Regions from separate parts of the Homo sapiens genome. Here region 2 is linked to region 1. Evidence: promoter capture Hi-C in human tissues and cell types (Jung and others, 2019). All regions are on one chromosome and are shown on one strand. Each heading gives the region's core, a stretch centred on a gene start or on the middle of the fragment in contact. The rest is flanking DNA. Distances are from core to core; before and after follow the strand shown. Region 1 holds the start of INTS2 (integrator complex subunit 2). Region 2 overlaps BCAS3 (BCAS3 microtubule associated cell migration factor).

The links. Contacts are between HindIII fragments. The study calls those that stand out against the background at their distance.
Region 2: a contact is called between a fragment that was not itself captured here and the fragment with the promoter of INTS2 in region 1, in 1 of the 25 tissues and cell types used here (dorsolateral prefrontal cortex).

The regions. Positions count from the first base shown.
Region 1 is chr17:61,925,683-61,930,207 of GRCh38, reverse strand. It overlaps INTS2 (integrator complex subunit 2), which reads left to right and starts at 2,226. Exons shown (of 25, transcript NM_001351695.2): 1 at 2,226-2,554; 2 at 3,546-3,856. The coding sequence starts at 3,564. RefSeq lists a silencer at 2,096-2,195. The HindIII fragment of the contact is 16,998 bases long and covers 1-4,525 here.
Region 2 is chr17:60,830,630-60,835,154 of GRCh38, reverse strand. All of the region lies in intron 7 of BCAS3 (BCAS3 microtubule associated cell migration factor), which reads right to left. Among named protein-coding and RNA genes, the nearest start is that of BCAS3, 160 kb to the right of the region's middle. The HindIII fragment of the contact is 3,838 bases long and covers 206-4,043 here.

The sequences.
Region 1 (4,525 bases), core at 977-3,476:
GTCTAGGATGACTTTTAGGTTTCTGGCTTGAGCAACTCAAGGTCAAGTTGGTGAACTGGAAGAAAAGGAGAGGGGGACTTGGAGGAAGTGTCAGCACTCATTATGTGACACTGCAGCCATCTCATTCAGTGATTTTTCTGTTTCTCCATAGATCAAGATGGAGATACTGAATCTGCATGATGTTTCTCCATTAGTGAACAGAGGATCATAATTAGAGTTGGAAAGGATCTTTAAAATCACTTAGTTCATACCCACATCTTCCTCTCATTCGTCCCTCAAACCAATGTTTGCACTGCCTTCACACTTTTCCTGTGAAATGACCATCCATGGAGATGAAATTGCTTACCCTCTCTCAGTTTCCACAATTGCAAAAGGCGAATATTACCTACGTCACAAGATTGAATCAGATAATATATATAAAGCATTTATTACAGTGCCTAGCAAGTGTTCAATAAATAAATCCCAAATATTAGCTTAAAAATGCTAGGACAGTACAGTGTGCAACCCATTAATAGAGTGTGAAATCAGTTTTAGTGTGCAGTGACCAGCAGTTTTTTAAAGAGAAGTAGAAACATGTAGTGTGTGTGTTATTATACGAAATATTTGTTTCCATGTAAATGTGGGTTTATATGTTATATATTTATATGTTTATATAGCATATAAATTTATACACTTACACTTATTTTTGTATGTGGATATATACATATGTTTTTTCTGGGTCACAATGTGAAATGTATTATTGTGGGTCAGGTGGAAAAAATTTTCAGAAGCATTGCAACACACAATTCTTTTCTTCCTTTGCTGATCTATGTTGAAAGTCATATATATATATATATTTTTGAGATGGAGTCTGGCTCTGTTGCCCAGGCTGGAGTGCGGTGGCATGATCTCTGCTCACTGAAACATCTGCCTCCTAGGTTCAAGTGATTTTCCTGTCTCAGCCTCCGAAGTAGCTGGGACTACAGGTGCTCCATCACCACGCTGGGGTAATTTTTTTTTTTTTTTTTTTTTTTTGAGACGGAGTTTCGCTCTTATTGCCTAGGCTGGAGTGCAATGGCACGATCTCAGCTCACCACAACCTCCGCCTCCCAGGTTCAAGCAATGCTCCCGCCTCAGCCTCCCAAGTAGCTGAGATTACAGGCGCACACCACCACGCCTGGCTAATTTTTGCATTTTTAGTAGAGGCGGAGTTTCACCATGTTGGTCAGGCTGGTCTCGAACTCCTGGCCTCGTGATCTGCCTGCCTCGGCCTCCCAAAGTGCTAGGATTACAGGCATGAGCCATCGTGCTCGGCCTAATTTTTATATTTTTTGTAGAGTTGGGGTTTAGTCATGTTGCGTCAGGCTGGTCTCGAACTCCTGACCTCAGGTGATCCGCCCGCCTCGGCTTCCCAAAGCGCTGGGATTACAGGCATGAGACACCACGCCCGGCTCTGACTTTATTTTTAAAGAGGTTATAAAGTGCTATATCTTTGTAAAATATTTTTATTTCCAGCTCCTAGCACAATATCTGGTAAATAGAAGTTGCCAAATAAACGTTGATCGAACTAGGAACAATAAATAGTATGAAGACATATGGACTAGCGGTTCTTCATATATAGACTAGTGGTTCTTTTCTGAGTGATCAGACTTCCTTTGAGAAGTTGTTGAAAGTTTTGGACCCTCTTCCCAGAAGAAGTGCCGAGCACTCAGTTCTGAACGGATTCCAGAGAATTCCTGAATCCCCGTGCATTGCCTCTCTAAGGTTCTATGGGTCCCCCAAGTTAAGAACCTGAAAGGAAGGTGTTTAACTTCTGACAGCGGAGGTGTGAGGTCAAGAGCGGAAGAAAGTTTGGGGTTAGATCACTTTTAAAATTCTCCCACAAATCCTGGGATTCTAGAATTTTGGTTCTGGGAAGGCACAGGCAAAGATTTAAAGAGTACAGTTTGGTACCACTAGTGTCAAAGAATAGTGGGAACGATTTTAACACACGTTATGCCATTTGAATGCCATGGCAATCCTGTGATGATGAAATTTAAGTTCTGAGGGGCTCAGTGGCTTGCTTGTCTAAAAGGAAGGAGCTGGTAGGCTCTGGAAATCAGAGCCTACCAGAATCACATTTCTAAATTTTTGGCGAACAAGTAGGGCAGGGCAAATAAAGTGGAGAAAGGGGCGGGGCCGCGCACGCGCACAGTTGCATTGGCGCCGACGTCTCTGCCTTTCCTCTCGCAGCCACCCTTCCTCTCAGACCAGTACGGTGGCCGACGGGAGTCAGACGCTGGGGATGAATGAAGGTGCTGGGTGCAGGTTGAAAAAGTCTCCCGCTTTTCCGTTCCTACAGTCCCGGTTCTGCCTTTGTGTGGTGCCCCCATCCTTCCCACTTTGTATCGACAACCCGGTTGGTCCCGGCGTCTGAGTTCTTGGTGTCCGAGTCGACTCGAGGCACAACTAGGGTTTGGGGTTCCGGATATCGCCTAGGCCCAACATCGGACCGCGCTCTCGATTTCTGCCGCGTCCCGCCTCTAGGACGCGGAGTCCGTGTGCGGTTCCGTGAGGCTGGAGGGTAGATCTTAAGGTATGAAGCGTCCGCTTCTCTGGCCTCAGCGCGTTCCTAGGTCCGTGTCGGAGCCTGGCCAGACTTTGCTCAGCCTGAGGGACTTATTGGTTCTAGTTGCGCCCGGGGCGAGACGGAGGAGCACGCAGGTCTTGGCTCCTCTGCTCCAGTCAGCCCGCCCCTCTGTTAAAAGAGCAGCCCCTCCCTGAAAGCAAAGCAGTTTTTACCCACGACTTTTACCCACGCTGCTGCTAGTCGGTCGGCCTTGAGAGGGGACTGCTTTGGCTGCCAGCTCACTGCCTTTTTGTTTACTTTTTGTGCCTTGGATGATTCCTGGAGACAGAGAAGTGCGCTAATGAGACGCGTCTTTCTCACATAGCACCCACACATCTGCTTTTTACCCGGTAACACAGGGGACATAGGATAGTGTTGTGGCCTCCAGAGCCTTGAATCTGGCATTGGTTCTGCCCAGTGATTTGCTAGTTTTTCCACCGACTCATGGAGGGTGAGAAAGAGAAGCCCAATAGTTCTTGATGTATATCGGGGTAGGCATGTGAAACTATCGGGGTATGAAAGAAAGCACTTAACTATGACCATTCACTTTTGTTTACATTTTGTGGAGCTCATGTGACTGATATAGTGGAGAAAGTCTTGGACTGGGATTTTAGTAGATGAGGATTCAGCCTTGGATTGTGCCTCTAACTAGTAATACTATTTTGGGCGTGTTACTTCATCTCTCTGGGCTTCATATTCCTTCTTTGTAAAATATGAGTATTAGAGCAGAAGATTCCTGAGGCTGGAAGAGACATTAATATACTCTGTTTTCTTTCCCATTTCCCAGGTGACAGTATAAACCTAGGGAGACAGAGAAGCCTTGTCTTGATTGTGCCAGGAACATTGCCAACATAGGGACCTATTAAAGATACACCACATTTTTCAGGGTTTTTAGAAAGTTGGGTGTTCATACATGTGAAAGTTAAACTCCTACTTTCATTTGTATTTTTACCATTAGGATCAACAAACAGTAATAATGACTGAATGTACAAGTCTTCAGTTTGTCAGCCCTTTTGCTTTTGAGGCAATGCAGAAGGTGGATGTTGTTTGCCTGGCATCTTTAAGTGATCCAGAATTAAGACTTCTTCTGCCCTGTTTGGTACGGATGGCACTTTGTGCACCTGCTGACCAGAGCCAAAGCTGGGCTCAGGATAAGAAACTCATCCTTCGCCTTCTTTCTGGAGTGGAAGCTGTCAACTCCATTGTTGCATTGTTGTCCGTGGACTTTCATGCTTTAGAACAAGATGCCAGCAAAGAACAGCAGCTTAGGTAATGTTATGTTATATTATATGTGGATTTGGATTTGACAAAGAACAGGGAATCAGATATTTTTTAGAGCTCTCCAGAAAAGAGAGAATGAGAATCTAAATTCTGGAGAGCATTTTACTTAGGTCTTTTCTGTATATAGTTACAGTTCCAGAATCTTTTGACTTCCATGTTATAAAATGTTATCTAGAGAAATATGGCAATGTGCTGTTGTATGTGGGCTAAACTCATTAGGCCAATTACTTTCAGTGGGAAGTAGGTAGGGTAACTTCCCCTAGATTAGAGGGATTTATTGGAATCACTTGGGAGGCTTTTTTTTTTCTTTTTTGAGACAGAGTTTCGCTCTTGTTGCCCAGGCTGGAGTGCAATGGCGTGATCTTGGCTCACTGCAACCTCAGCCTCCCAGGTTCAAGCGATCCTCCTGCCTCAGCCTCCCGAGTAGCTGGGATTACAGGCACCTGCCACCATGCCCGGCTAATTTTTTGTATTTTTAGTAGAGATGGGGTTTCATCATGTTGGCCAGGCTGGTCTCCAACTCCTGGCCTCAGGTGATCCACCTGCCTTGGCCTCCCAAAGTGCTGGGATTACAAGTGTGAGCCACTGGGCCCAGCCTCTTGGGAGGCTTTTAAAGCTTAGATATTCCCAAAGATTCTGGGCAGGTGCTATGTCCTT
Region 2 (4,525 bases), core at 875-3,374, 1.1 Mb after region 1:
ATGAATTTAATGTCCATTAGAAGATTCTATTGTACTTTCCTATTTTATCGCTTTCTTCTGATAGATAACAAAAGTGCAGAAACTGCTGGCAGAGGAATACAGAAGAATAGAGAGGCAAAACAGACCAGTTAAAAATTAAACATTAAAATTTTAGTTAATGATAAAGAAATACATCATAAAGTTCCCTAAAAATCATGTACAGTTAGTTTTGAGTCATACTATTATAAGGAACTTTTGAAAACTAAAAGAATATACTAGGGAAAATTTATAAGTTGGTTATAGTAGAAGCACTAACAACCACAAAAAGCAAGATGTTGCCGGGATTTATTTCCCTAAAAGCAATATAACTTAAAACTCCTTATCAGTTATGATAAACAAAAAAATACAGAGTCATTTTTCATATTAACAGATACACACAACCATAGCTAACAAAAAAACATGGGGTACTTGAAATGAGGATACTAAAGTCTAGCTCAACTCATAAAAAGATGTTAATTATACCATCTTCTGCCAAGCAAGCACAGTGAGGCCAAATATACTACTATACTGTGAAAGAGTATGCCCAGTTTTATTACTCTAGTATCATCTTAAAACTTGATAATCTACCAATGTAGATTAGTTTGAGTACACATATGAAATCAATAGAAACCACTTCACTAAACATTTCAAAGTAACCAAAGTTCATCACAGCATTTGAGACATGCTGAGAAATGAAGTAAAGCCAAAATTAATAGATTATGCTTAAAGTCTAATTCTCAAAATCAAGGAACAACCTGTTATATCAAGACAGAACAGGAAACATTTTAGAGAAGGATATGTGTAAAAATTTATAGTCAATTATTTTCCTTGTCAATTCTTAAAATGATAGCAGAAAAATCTAAGCTTTTGCTTATCTTTATTAAGAAGACAATAAAATATCCTGTTCTAAATTAATACTTCTAAGAAATCTGACATATTATTGAAGTACAACAAAATTATTCCTCTTGTACCATAAAATGTTTTGTTTGAAAACTAGTAAGAATATTTACATTCATTTTACATAAATGTTATTATATTACATAATTTGTGATAAAGCCACATTAGTATAATTTCTCTTTCCTGTTATTAGAATCAGAAAAATATCACATGATGATTTAAATCCTTCTAATGATAATATGCAGTTATTTTATAGTGAAATATAACTTAAATTGCACCAAATACCTACAGATATAAATACAGCTTTAAAAAGTAGTTTCACGTTTTGACAGATTACTTTTCATAGTAGACAGAGAAGTAAAATGTTTTCTTATTTGGCTTTTCTTGTAAAGGCAGTTGGAATTGAGCGGAAAATGAAGGGGCGTCAAATGACAAAGCCAAATGTTGCAAAATATATCTATTATATCAAATGTGGATAATTACAGTTTTGAAAGAATACGTGAAGTGAAAATATATAAGTGCCTTACCACTGATTAAAGTTTTTGTAAACATATGTACCGAACGAAATAAAAATAAATTGTTTGTAACATAATTTTGAAACTTGGTAGTTCAAACAAATAGCCCTCATTCACAATTCACAAAACTACTATATGAATGAATGGTCACAGATGCAATGCAAAAGTATAAGTGTGCAAAATGCAAAATACTAAGGTTATAATGAAGCAATCTGTAACCACAGCAACTGTGAGTTTCTGACACAATCTTGAAAGAAATTTGGGATTTCACTACAATTCTTATTGCCTAGGATCAAGAAAACTCACAGCATTCTGCTTTTAAAAATTAAAACTATTTCTTTAGGACATCCAACTAAAAGACTGCCAAAATAAATTTTTGCCAACATAAAAACATGATTTTATTTGCATTATAAAAAAAGTGCTATTAGTGCTTTTCAAGAATTATCTAAAAGGTATTTCAAGAAGATTAGATAAGGGCTGGAGCTGGAGACACAAGACAGCACAGATGCACAAGGGCAGACTATTTGAAAATTGGATTCTTTTAGAATATATAAAATGGGCCAGGTACAGTGGCTCGCACCTGTAATCCCAGCTGTTTGGCAGTCTGAGGTGGGAGGATCGCTTGAGCTCAGGAGTTTGAGACCAGCCTGGGCAATACAGTGAGACCCCTATCTCTATTTTTTAAAAATAGATTATATAAAATGACTTGTCATGGTACTTGTATTTTACATTGTATAGAAACACTGCCTTTAAAGGCAGAAGTTGAAAAGCAGGTGCTTTTAGAGAACTAATTCTTTTTATTTCAAAAATGCATACATGGCCAAACCTTTTGTGACACATAAGTGGAATGATATTAACTTTCACAAAGATTAGAGAAATGTCTTTTAGGTTCTAGTCTCAGATGGAGAACTAATAATGGAAACTGGAAATTCCCACTTTTTCCAGGATTAAGCAATTTAATAGTTATCAGTTTGATACTACAAAAGTTTTTAGAATTCATTTTGAAAAGCACACTTTAAGATCCAAATTCTCCTTAAAAATGCATAGAATGTTTCTTCTCAATTATAAAAAATAACCTCTTTACATTTGGAATCTAAATTTTCAATTAAAGGAGAAACTTTAAAAAACAAAAAAAAATCCTACCTCAGGCAAGCCTCAGTTCACTGGATCTATGTCACATTGATTTATAACAGTTATTTCTTAGGGGATAAAAAAGCACACACAGATGCAAACAATTACTCTATTTTTGTAGGCAACAAGTGAGGTGGGTGGTAACTGAGAAATTTTTTTTAAATCCTGTCACAATATTCTGCTTTTTCTTAAGAAACCCTCCTCACACAACAAACGTTTGCCACATCAGAGAATTTCCAGGGCCTGAAGCACCACTTTGATTCCAGCCCGCTGCAGGCATTAGCAGGAGGTAATTAGGGTAAAAAGTTCAGCCACAGTTCCATGTGTAGAGTCCTGCCAGAAATAAATTTCCTCTCTATTCACTGGTTTCTACTGTACCCTCCCCTAACAATCATACTGAAAACACATTTATCTTTGTAGAGTTTGTTCCTCTTCTAATTAACTTTATGGCATTTACAGTGTTTAATAATTTAAAACGGCACCAATTGCAGCAGTTTTATACTTAATAGTGCAGTGGTGTATTATCATTTTTCCTCTATTGCTGCTTCGTTTGACAAATGACTCTCAGAAGTATGCACTGCAGCTGTTTTCATCATCATAAACGTACATTTTATTTTTTTGTCTGAGAAAGGTGCACGGACAAAACTGACAAACAGATGCATTCAGAATGTTTTCTTCTGAATTTTTCAAGAAAGTGAAAAAGACTAATCAAAAAATTAAAAATGACATTACTTTACAATATACAAATTATTGTATTTTATATTTTCCACAGAGATAAATGTGACTACATCTAAATAACTGATAAGACTTAAACATACCACATATTTGAGGGCTTGTCATTTAAAAAAAAAAACCCACCGCCAAAGAGGCACTCAAAATACTGTCCCTTGCTCTGCATTAGTCTCTCCAAAAGCACATCCACCCACACCCACACACACGTAGGGAGGCTCTAATTAACATGCCAGTCATCTCACAATAACTGTTTTAACCTTCGTTGTATACTGTGTTTGGTAAACAAGATGTTAATAAAATTATATAAATGAAAAGAAAACCACTTGTCACAACAATTGTTTTCTAACAAAGGATAAAATCAGTTAACATAAGGAAGACATAACATAGGTCGGTGCAGTGGCTCATGCCTGTAATCTCAGCACTTTGGGAGGCTGAGGCGGGAGGATCACCTGAGGTCAGGAGTTCGAGACCAGCCTGGCCAACATGGTGAAATCCTGTCTCTACTAAAAATACAAAAATTAGCTAGGCGTGGTGGCACGCGCCTGTAGTCCCAGCTACTCAGGAGGCTGAGGCAGAAGAATCACTTGAGCCTGGGAGGCAGAGGTTGCAGTAAGCCGAGACCGTGCCACTACACTCCAGCCTGGTTGACAGAATGAGGCTGGGTCTCAAAAAAAAGACATAACATATAACTCAATCAAAAGACATTTATTGGCCAGATGCAGTGGCTCATGCCTGTAATCACAGCACTTAGGGAGGCCAAGGCAGGAGGATCACTTGAGTTCAGGAGTTCGAGACCAGCCTAGGCAATACCACAAAACCCCGTCTAGCCGAGTCTGGTGGGACACACCTGTAGTCCCAGCTACTAGGGAGGCTGAAGTGGGAGAACTGTTTGAGCCCGAGGGTCAAATGTTGCAGTGAGCCAAGACTGTACCACTGCACTCCAGCATGGATCACAGAGTAAGACCTTGTCTTAAAAAAACAAAAGGATGTTTATTTAAAAAAAAAAAAAAACCCAAAAATTAAATCTTGGCTCTAGAATATTATAGTAGTTGTGATAAATACCTTATTGAGCCAGAAAATTTATTTTTAAGATAATAATAATCTATTCATGGACATAAAACAAAACTTCAAAGTTTGTAATTTTTTCAAGTTTTTCAGCCAGCTTTATAATTTAAACTCCTTTTGTGTAAAAGGAGTTTTTCTAAATCTTTCCAAATTCTCTTCAAATATTT